2 separate regions of the Homo sapiens genome follow, and region 2 is linked to region 1. The links are contacts of gene promoters, found by promoter capture Hi-C in human tissues and cell types (Jung and others, 2019). All regions are on one chromosome and are shown on one strand. Each heading gives the region's core, a stretch centred on a gene start or on the middle of the fragment in contact. The rest is flanking DNA. Distances are from core to core; before and after follow the strand shown.

What was found. Contacts are between HindIII fragments. The study calls those that stand out against the background at their distance.
Region 2: a fragment that was not itself captured here is called in contact with the fragment with the promoter of WNK2 in region 1 in 2 of the 25 tissues and cell types used here (dorsolateral prefrontal cortex and spleen).

Annotation. Positions count from the first base shown.
Region 1 is chr9:93,180,941-93,186,153 of GRCh38, forward strand. It overlaps WNK2 (WNK lysine deficient protein kinase 2), which reads left to right and starts at 3,199. Exons shown (of 30, transcript NM_006648.4): 1 at 3,199-3,445; 2 at 3,988-4,670. The coding sequence starts at 3,990. The HindIII fragment of the contact is 13,924 bases long and covers 1-5,213 here.
Region 2 is chr9:93,337,047-93,341,927 of GRCh38, forward strand. It overlaps the pseudogene FAM120A2P. Among named protein-coding and RNA genes, the nearest start is that of FAM120A, 110 kb to the right of the region's middle. The HindIII fragment of the contact is 9,643 bases long and covers 1-4,881 here.

The sequences.
Region 1 (5,213 bases), core at 1,949-4,448:
TGAGCTCCAGCTGGGCATGGCTAGACCCTGCTCTTCCTTCTAGCCAGTGACCCTCAATGGGCCCTGATGTGAGCAGAGGCAGTGGAGCTAGCCCCATCTCCTTTCCTCCCTTCTTTCATGAGCATTTGTTGAATGCCTTTTGTTGCCAAGACTGTTGAGCATGACCATTATGCCCATCTCACAGATGAGCAAACTGAAACCATGGTCCTGTTGCTTGCTGAGGCCCAGCTCCTGGAACTGCATCTGCATGGAGCAGGTGTGTGCCTGCACGTGCCTACTGGCTGGGTAGGCTGGAGCATAGCCTGGACTTGGGAGAAACTTTTTTCACCAAAGGGGCTCCCTGGCATTGTGGAAGCTAAGGTGATAGCTGTGGGTAGAGGTCACTGTCTCCACTCTGAGGCCTTGAGAAAGTTACTTAAAGTTGAAAAATCTCTGGGCAAGACCTCAATGTACTCATCTGTTCTAAACATCGAAGACAAATGCTGCCCCGTAATCCCAGCACTTTGGGAGGCTGAGGTGGTTGGATCACTTGAGGTCAGGAGTCCGATACCAGCCCGGCCAACATGGTGAAACCTCATCTCTACTAAAAATACAAAATTAGCTGGGCGTGGTGGTGGGCGCCTGTAATCCCAGCTACTCAGGAGGCTGAGGCAGGAGAATTGCTTGATCCTGGGAGGCAGAGGTTGCAGTGAGCTGAGCTGAGATCCCGTCACTGCACTCCAGCCTGGGCAACAAAGTGAAACTCCATCTCAAAAAAACAAAAACAAAAGCAGAAAACAAAAAACAAACCTCCAAAAGACAAATGCTGGCATCATGACCCTGGATCATGCAGCCTCAGGACACCCAGTAAAGCAGACTACAGTATTTATACTCCCCGTCTTAGCAGCAGGGAGATGGAAGCTCAGAGATATCCAGTGACCTGCCAAAGGGCATATAGCCAGTGCTGTGAAGTCCTGACTTCCAAGGTCTGTCCAAGGATCCCTCAGGCTCCATCTGCCAGGATCCCAGGAGCTGCTCCTGAGCCCAGCCTGAGATTCCTTGCAGAGGAAACTGTGACCTGTCCACTACTGACTTAGCTGTGTACCCTAATGGTCATGGGTTGGCAGAGAGAATGAGCTCTCCACCATGGGAGGTGTGTAAGCAGAGATGCGTGAATTCACCCCAAGGGCTCAGAGAGCACACAGTACTCTCTCAGGGACAGGCTGTCCCCCACTCCCCACAGCCTGGGCTGCTCCCTGCTGATTTGTGGGTGTAGCCATCCTTTCCCACGCATGTGTACAAGTGTGGGTGGGCAGCAGCCATGGGTGCTGATGAACCTTCTCCGATGCTGGCAGGTATTTTGCCCACACACTGCCAGTGTGGCCTGTTGGGAGCAGGAGGAGGCCAGATAGGTGTGTGCTGGTCTCAGAACACGCTTAGCTCTGTCCCATCCTGGTTTTCCCTTGGATAGGCTTGAACACACCCATCATGAACAGGTCTGTGGACTTGGTGCCCTTCCTAGATTGACTGAATCTACAAGGAATTGGCAGCCTTTTAAGGTGGGCAAGTCAGGATGATCAGCCCACTCTGCAGGGCCAGATACTGAGGCTCAGGAAGGACCAGGACTTGCCCAAGTTCACTCAGCTGGTTAGGGGCAAGGTTGGGGGGTCTTTAGCCTCCAAAGGGAAGACAGAAAAGATCCTTTTCCACCCCTGACCTCTACCTGGAAGACTCCTGCCCCAGGAGATGCAACTTAGATCCCTGTCCCTCAGGCCTCTCTGTCCTGCAGAGCTGGCGTCTGCTGTTTGGCCTCCTCCTCGTGTGAGCTCTGGGCTCATGCCAGCGGACTTGAGCCCCGGAATGAATGCCTGTCTCACACGGTAGATTAGATTATATAAATAACAGGCAAGTGCCAAATGCATAGCCCTACACCTAGCACACTATTTAACCACTGGCTCTCTGGGGAGAAAAGTCCTGATTTGAGGTGTTTGCCAATTTCCGCAGTGTAAATACTCCCAGCATTGCTGACTTCAGGCTACAGGGTGGCATTGCTGAACCCAGAGCTGGGAAGGGATGTTCACTGTTGCCCCTCACAAATTAGTTTCAGCCAGTGCCAGTGCCCAGCGGGGCTCCAGGAAGTCCTGCTTCTCTGGGTAACAGTTGGCCTGGCATATTCTTCCCTCTACATTGTGAAGGTGAGATATCGCCTCTGCTGGCTTTTATGCCACATGAGTTATTTTGTGCCAGGGGCTCCAAGGCCTACAGGCCCACAAGCATCTTTTCATCTCTGGAAGTGTGTGTGTATCTGATGGGGGTGCCAGCCCAGTGGGATGGGGACTGAGATGAGAATACTCTGGTATCTCCCTTGTGCCTCAGTTTCCTCACCTAGGATCATGGAGGCTGGGGTAAGGGTGAAGTGTTAGCTCAGGGCATTGCCTGGAGCAGGGCTCAGAACTTAGCAGTATGGTTACTGACACAGGTCACCTGCTGCATTAGGGCCAGAGACGCCCAAGAGAGGGCTTGTCCGTGGGGGTCTAGAGGAGGAAGGAGCTAGAGATCATGGAAGACTTCTCGGGAGAGGTGGCATCTGGCAGAGGTGGGAAGGAAGAACACTTTGGGTCAAGGGGCTTCTGGAAGCCTCTCCATATCCCATCCAAGGCATTCCAGCTCAGCTTCGGTCTTGAAAGTTCTGGGATTTAGAGCATATAACTTCTGCCTTTGGCGCCTCAGTTTGCTCTAGACTGTGAAATGGGCATAATGATCACCAGTGCCTCCCTGGGTGATGATGAGGTCCTCATGGTTCCTGGTGGTGAAGTGAGGGCAGGAAAGGACACGCTGAGCCCCACCAGGCTTAGCCCCAGGCTGGGCTCCCGAGGGCGGCGGTACCCCTGGTCCTTTTCTTCCTAGCCTGCCCATTCTGTCCTGGCACAGGGCCTTGAGGTCTAGCGCGCCGGGCTGCGGCGTGCTGAGGCGTTGAGCCTGCTGCCTCCTCTCAGGAAGAAACGGGGTCCTCCGCAGCTGACAGCCCTGCGGGGCGTTCCAAAGAACTTCAGAGGACAGGAGCGCTACCTCGAGCAAAGAACCGCGGGTGGGAGCCCAGGTAGCCGGCCCGCAGGTGGCCGCGCGCGCCTGCCAGTCAGCCAGCCCGTCCGCAGCCAGGTGGGCGTGCCAGGCCCAGCCCCCTGCGCCGGTCCGGGGCGGGGCGAACGGAGCCCCGCCCTCCCCGCGCGCCGGGTCGGAGCCGGTGCGGGAGCGGAGCCGCGCGAAGCCGGCAGGAGCACGCGGGAGCGCGGCCCCGCAGTGGCCCGGCCCGAGAGAGCAGCGCGCAGGAGCTGGAGCGGCGCCACGGCCCCCACCCCAGCGCGGACCTCGCCCGGAACTCGGACCCCGTCCTCGAAGCGTGATCTCTCCCGCCTCGCACGCCCTGGCCGCCGGGCCGCGGGCATGGACGGCGTCCGCTCGCCCTGTGAGTGCCGAGCCTCCCCTCAACGCCGCTCGCCGCCTTTGTGTGCGCGCCGCGGCGCTGCAGCCCCCTCCCCGCGCGCCCCTCCCGCGCCCCGGGCCCGCGTCCTTTGTGGAGCCGCCGCCGGGCCACTGCCTTCCTCCCACCCCCGGGCTTCCCTATCCCCTTTACAGCTGCCTCCGGGACAGCCTAGCAGAACCCTCCTGGGCCAGGGCTGGGCAGGGCGCGAGATCCCTCTGCCGGCCTCCGGGGCCCTCAGGGACACCCTAGCAGGTCCTCTCTCCCAGGGTTCCAGGGACACCACAGGCCCGTCCCTCTCCGCAGCCTGGGGCTGAGCAGGGCACGGACCCCTCCTCCCCAACCCAAGCCTCTGGTCCCGTCTGCAGCCCCCCTTTCCCAGGGCCCCCAGAGACGGCCCCCGCAGGCTCTCTCCGCGGCCGGGGCTGGGCAGGTTGCGGGCTTAGGGCGGCGTTGTCTCATCCGGCGGCCTGGGCAGGTGCGGCAGGGCCGGCGCTCACGCGGGCCTGTGTGTCCTTGGCCCACAGAGATGGACGGCGATGGCGGCCGCCGAGACGTCCCCGGCACGCTGATGGAGCCCGGGCGCGGCGCGGGGCCCGCGGGCATGGCGGAGCCTCGGGCGAAGGCGGCGCGGCCGGGGCCCCAGCGCTTTCTGCGGCGCAGCGTGGTAGAGTCGGACCAGGAGGAGCCGCCGGGCTTGGAGGCAGCCGAGGCGCCGGGCCCGCAGCCCCCGCAGCCCCTGCAGCGCCGGGTGCTTCTGCTCTGCAAGACGCGCCGCCTCATCGCGGAGCGCGCCCGCGGACGCCCCGCCGCCCCCGCGCCCGCAGCGCTGGTAGCGCAGCCGGGAGCCCCCGGAGCCCCCGCGGACGCCGGCCCCGAGCCCGTGGGCACGCAGGAGCCCGGCCCGGACCCCATCGCAGCCGCTGTCGAAACCGCGCCTGCCCCCGACGGCGGCCCCAGGGAGGAGGCGGCGGCGACCGTGAGGAAGGAGGATGAGGGGGCGGCCGAGGCGAAGCCTGAGCCCGGGCGCACTCGCCGGGACGAGCCCGAAGAGGAGGAGGACGACGAGGACGACCTCAAGGCCGTGGCCACCTCTCTGGACGGCCGCTTCCTCAAGTTCGACATCGAGCTGGGCCGCGGTTCCTTCAAGACGGTCTACAAGGGGCTGGACACGGAGACCTGGGTGGAGGTGGCCTGGTGTGAGCTGCAGGTGAGGGTGCCCCAGCCCGCAGGGGGCTTTCCGCAGGGTCTGTCCGCGAGTGCGTCCTTGGGCCTGTCCTTGCTCCTGCGCCTGGCCTTAAGAAGCCCTGGGGGCGGCGGGGCTCCATGTGTGTCACCCTCTGTGTGGATGGCTGGCAGGATGCATACCAGGTGTGCGGACGGCATGTGGGGCCTGGCTGTGTCCGTGCGCAGGTTGCGGTTTGTGAGTCAGCTGGTGGCGAGGGCAGGCCTCTGTTGTGCGTTTGGTGTAAGTGTGCACGCTGTGGGCGTAGAGAGGGTCCTGGAGAGTGGGCCTCGGAGGCTGTGTCTCTTAGGCTGCTGCTTCTCCAGTCCCGATGACCTACTTTAATGACCCAGGGAGTCTGGACTGTTGTGTCTTTGCAAAACAGTGTGGAGGCTTCAAGGCCCGGTGTGTGCAGTCAGAGTGTTTTGGGGGCTCTGGGCTGCCCATAAATTAGTACTTTCCTGTGTCCAGCAAGCCGTGGCTGCCCCAGCAGGGATACCTGCAGAGACTTCTTCTGACCCAGGGCCT
Region 2 (4,881 bases), core at 2,030-4,529, 160 kb after region 1:
CAGGCTGAGAACTGGACTGGAGGATGCCAGGAGCCCTAAGGCGGTGTCGGTAAGACACATACTACTGAAGACACAGAGAAAATACAAAACCTGAGTGAGACACAACAGATCCACCAGGGGCTTGCACGGCTGCACCATCTCTTCCTTGGGTTTGTTTTAAATGTTGAAGAAAACCAAGCCTAGAGCTTCCTGACTCCAATTTCCCTCTTTAAGCAGTAGATATGCTTCTACAACCTCTTCATCTGAACACCAGGTGATATGGTTAGGCTTCATGTCCCCACCCAAATCTCATCTTTAATTATAAACTTCATAGTCCCCATAATCCCCATGTGTCAGGGAGACACCAGGTGGAGGTAACTGGATCATGGGAGTCGTTTCCTCATGCTGTTCTTGTGATAGTGAGTGAGTTCTCACAAGATCTGATGGTTTTATAAGGGGCTCTTTCCCCTTTGCTCGGCACTTCTCCTTTGTGCCACCTTGTTAAGAAAGTGCCTTGCTTCTCCTTTGCTTTTGCCAGGATTATAAGTTTACTGAGGCCTCCCCAGCTATGCTGAACTGTGAGTCAACTAAACCTCTTTCCTTTATAAATTACACAGTCCCAGGAAAGCTTCTTTATACTAGTATGAAAATGGACTAATACAATAAATAGGTACTGAAAAGAGTGGGGTGCAGCTATAAAGATACCTGAAAATGGGAAGCAACTTTGGAACTGGGTAACAGGCACACGTTGGAACTGTTTGGAGGTCTCAGAAGAAGACAGGAAGATGTAGGAAACTTTGGAACTTCCTAGATTCTTGTTGAAAGACTTTGACCAAAATGCTGATAGTGATATGGACAATGAAGTCCAGGATGAGGTGATCTCAGATGGCGATGAAGAACTTGTTGGGAACTGGAGCAAAGGTGATTCTTGCTATGCTTCAGCAAAGAGACTGGTGGCATTTTGCCCCTGCCCTAGAGATCTGTGGAACTTTGAACTTGAGAGAGATGATTTAGAGTATCAGGTGGAAGAAATTTCTAAGCAGCAAAGCGTTCAAGAAGTGACTTGGGTGCTCTTAAAAGCATTCAGTTTTATGCATTCACAGAGATGATTTGGAATTGGAACTAATGTTTAAAAGAAAAGCAAGCATAAAGGTCTAGAAAATGTGCAGCCTGATGATGGGATAGAAAAGAAAAACCCATTTTCTGAGGAGAAATTCAAGCTGGCTGCAGAAGTTTGCATAAGTAATGAGGAGCCAAATGTTAATAGCCAAGACAATGGGGAAAATGTCTCCAGGGCATGTCAGAGGTCTTCAAGGCAGCTCCTCCCATCACAAGCCCTGAGGCCTAGGAGGAAAAAATGGTTTTATGGGCCGGGCCCAGGGCCTTGCTGCTTTTTGCAGTCTTGGGACTTGGTGTGTTGCATCTCAGCTGTGGTTAAAAAAGGACAATGTACAGCTCAGGCCTCAGGCCATTGCTTTACAGTGTGAAAGCCCCAAGCCTTGGTGGCTTCTACATGGTATTGGGCCTGCAGGTGCACAGAAGTCAAAAACTGAGGTTTGGGAACTCCACCTAGACTTCAGAGGATGTATGGAAATGCATGGATGTCTAGGCAGAAGTTTGCTGCAGGAGTGGAGCCCTCACGGAGAACCTCTGCTAGGGCAGTGCAGAAGGGAAATGTGGGGTCAGAGCCCCCCCAAAGAGTCCCCACTGGGGCACTGTCTAGTGCAGCTATGAGAAGAGGGCCACAGTCCTACAGACCCCCAAATGGTAGATCCACTGACTGTTTGCACCACACCCCTGGAAAAGCCACAGATACTCAACATCAGCCTGTGAAAGCAGTCGGGAGGGAGGCTGTACCCTGCAAAGCCACAGAGGTGGAGCTGACCAAGGCCATGGGAGCCCACCTCTTGTATCAGTGTGACCTGAATGTGAGACATGGAGTCAAAGGATATCATTTTGGAGTTTCAAGATTTGATGGCCCCACCGGATTTTAGAATTGCATGGGGCCTATAGCCCCTTCATTTTGGCCAATTTCTCCCATTTGGAAGGGGCATATTTACCCAATGCCTGTACCCTCATTGTATCTAGGAAGTAACTAACTTGCTTTTGATTTTACAGACACATAGGCGGAGGAGGGGGGTTGTCTTGTCTCAGATGAGACTTTGGACTTGGACTTTTGAGTTAATGCTGGAATGAATTAATACTTTGGGGGACCGTTGAGAAGGCATGATTGGTTTTGAAATATGAAAGGGACATGAGATTTGGGAGAGGCTGGGGCAGAATGATATGGTTAAGCTTTGTTTCCCCACCCAAATCTCATCTTGAAATTAATGCCTATAATCCCCACGTGTCAAGGCAGAGATGAGGTGGAGGTAATTCGATCATGGGGGCAGTTTCCCCCATGCTGTTCTCATGATAGGGAGTGAGTTCTCATAAAATCTGATGGTTTTATAAGGGGCTGTTCCCCTTTCACTTGGAACTTCTTACTGCTGCCTTGTGAAGAAGGTGCCTTGCTTCCCCTTTGCCTTCTGCCATGATTGTTACGTTTCCTGAGGCCTCGCCAGCCATGCTGAACTGTGAGTCAATTAAAACTCTTTCCTTTATAAATTACCCAGTCTCAGGCAGTTCTTTATAGCAGTATGAAAACAGACAAATACACTAGGGACGGGGAACACAACCCACGAACCACCACCTTTCACACTGCCTATCTGCCAAAATAGGTGAGGACAGAAACATTCCCCAAACCTTTGCTCCTGCTCCCTGAAAGCAAACATCCATGGCTGCACTCACAAGAGGCTCCCTAAGCCGATACTAGGGGTGGTGAGACCAGGAGTGCAAACTTTGTCCTGGGCCCAGCCTCCTGAGAGCCAAGCATGGCCCACGGAGGCTAGGAGTGAGGTACAGATCATTGTTGACTGCCCCCAGAGAAGGACCAGGAATCTTACAGACTATGATCCTGTGTGAAGTTCCCACCTTCTAAGGGCTTTCAGCTTACAAGCTCTAAAACACCATAGCCCTTTGATCCTGGCTCGCACCAAGAAAAAACCTTGGCAGAGCTTCCAGCTTTGTACTAAACAAAGAAAACTGCAGTATGAGAAGCTAGGAATAATGAGACCAGCATGTTTGTAGTCACAGACACCTCACACTTGCACGCAACATGCACACAGACACACGTGCACACATGTCCCTGACTGAACAATAAGTCCACAGATCCATGCCTCTAAGGGATGTGTGTGCACAAGCAAGCACTCACTCATGCACAGGAGCAGATACACACAGGAGTGCACACAAACACACCCCCACCCTTGCATGCACGGCACACACACACATACACACACAGGCATGCATGCCACACACACATGCATGGCACAGACCACACAAGGAGGTGTTCCTAATCAAAGAGTACGTCACCTAGATCTGCACTTCTAAGTATGCGATCGAAGTCACCATTATTTCAAAAACTCATTCACAGGTGATTCTGAATCATAGCCAGATTTGGTCCAGAGAATATTACAAAGTCGATTCAAGCTCTAACAGTATAATTTAAATCAATGTAAAATGTCTAGTGTATAATGTCTTGTGAGTATCCTCACATACCTAACTTTGTTTTGAGAAGGAGTCTCACTCTGTTGCCCAGGCTGGAGTGCAATGGCATGACCTCAGCTCACTGCAACCTCCACCCCCCGGGTTCAAGGGAGTCTCCTGTCTCAGCCTCCCGAGTAGCTGGGACTACAGCCATGCACCACCACTTAGCTATTTGTTTTTTTATTTTTAGTAGAGATGGGGTTTCACCATGTTGGCCAGGCTGGTGTCGAACTCCTGACGTCAAGCGATCTGCCCACCTCGGCCCCCAAAGTGCTGGGATTACTGGCATGAGCCACATGCCCAGCCCTAACTTTGTAATAGTAAAAATGCAAGGCTAGTCTCATGCAGCAGCAGCATTCAAGTGCAGACGATCATTTTTGTTTTTCTATTTTTGGCCATTACATCCTAAAACCTTCCTTGAAAGCACCAATTTTCCTCTAAAGCAAACAAACAAACAAACAAACAAACTACATTACAGCATAAAACCAAAGAATTCCAGGGAAAGAATATTTTCTAAAATCACATTCCAATCATTGACCTCAAATAATCCTCTGTGAATCCACAGAGCAAGTCACTATTCTATTAAAGCAGTCCAATAAGTGAATTAATTTGTCTGCATTTTCTGAAGGCTGCAGAAGTGCCTCCTAACCCAGGGTCTGCCTCTGCGGATTCAGGCCTTCGTCTATATCGGTTCTTGTTCTCCATGCCCAAGTGCAGCTGAGCAGAACCACTGTGTGTCCTCTCTACAACAAGAGGCATCTTTCTCAGAAGGGACACGGGGCTCCAGAGTAGAGATCACACCACCAGTTTCTCACTCTCTTCCTTTCACACTTACTAGAGAGGTGGGCTTTTGTTAAAATAGTATGCAGACTGAATACAAGAAGCAAAAAGAGGAAAAAAGGCCAAAAAAAGTTTATTATATTTTGAAATATTTCATAACTTTAAAATTAGTTTTTAAATAGTAAAAAGTTCTTTCAGAATGAAGAGAAAAGAAACACGCACTGCAGTCCCTCAGCTGTGCGGTCTCAACTTTTTTTTTTTTTTTTTTTTTTGAGACAGAGTTTTGCTCTTGTTGCCCAGGCTGGAGTGCAATGGCGTGATCTTGGCTCACCACAACCTCTGCTTCCTGGGTTCAAGCGATTCTACTGCCTCAGCCTCTTGACTAGCTAGGGTTACAGGCATGCGCCACCATGCCCAGCTAACTTTTTGTATTTTTAGTAGAGATGGGGTTTCTCCATGTTGGTCAGGCTGGTCTCGAACTCCCAACCTCAGGTGATCCGCCTGCCTTGGCCTCCCAAAGTGCTGGGATTACAGGCA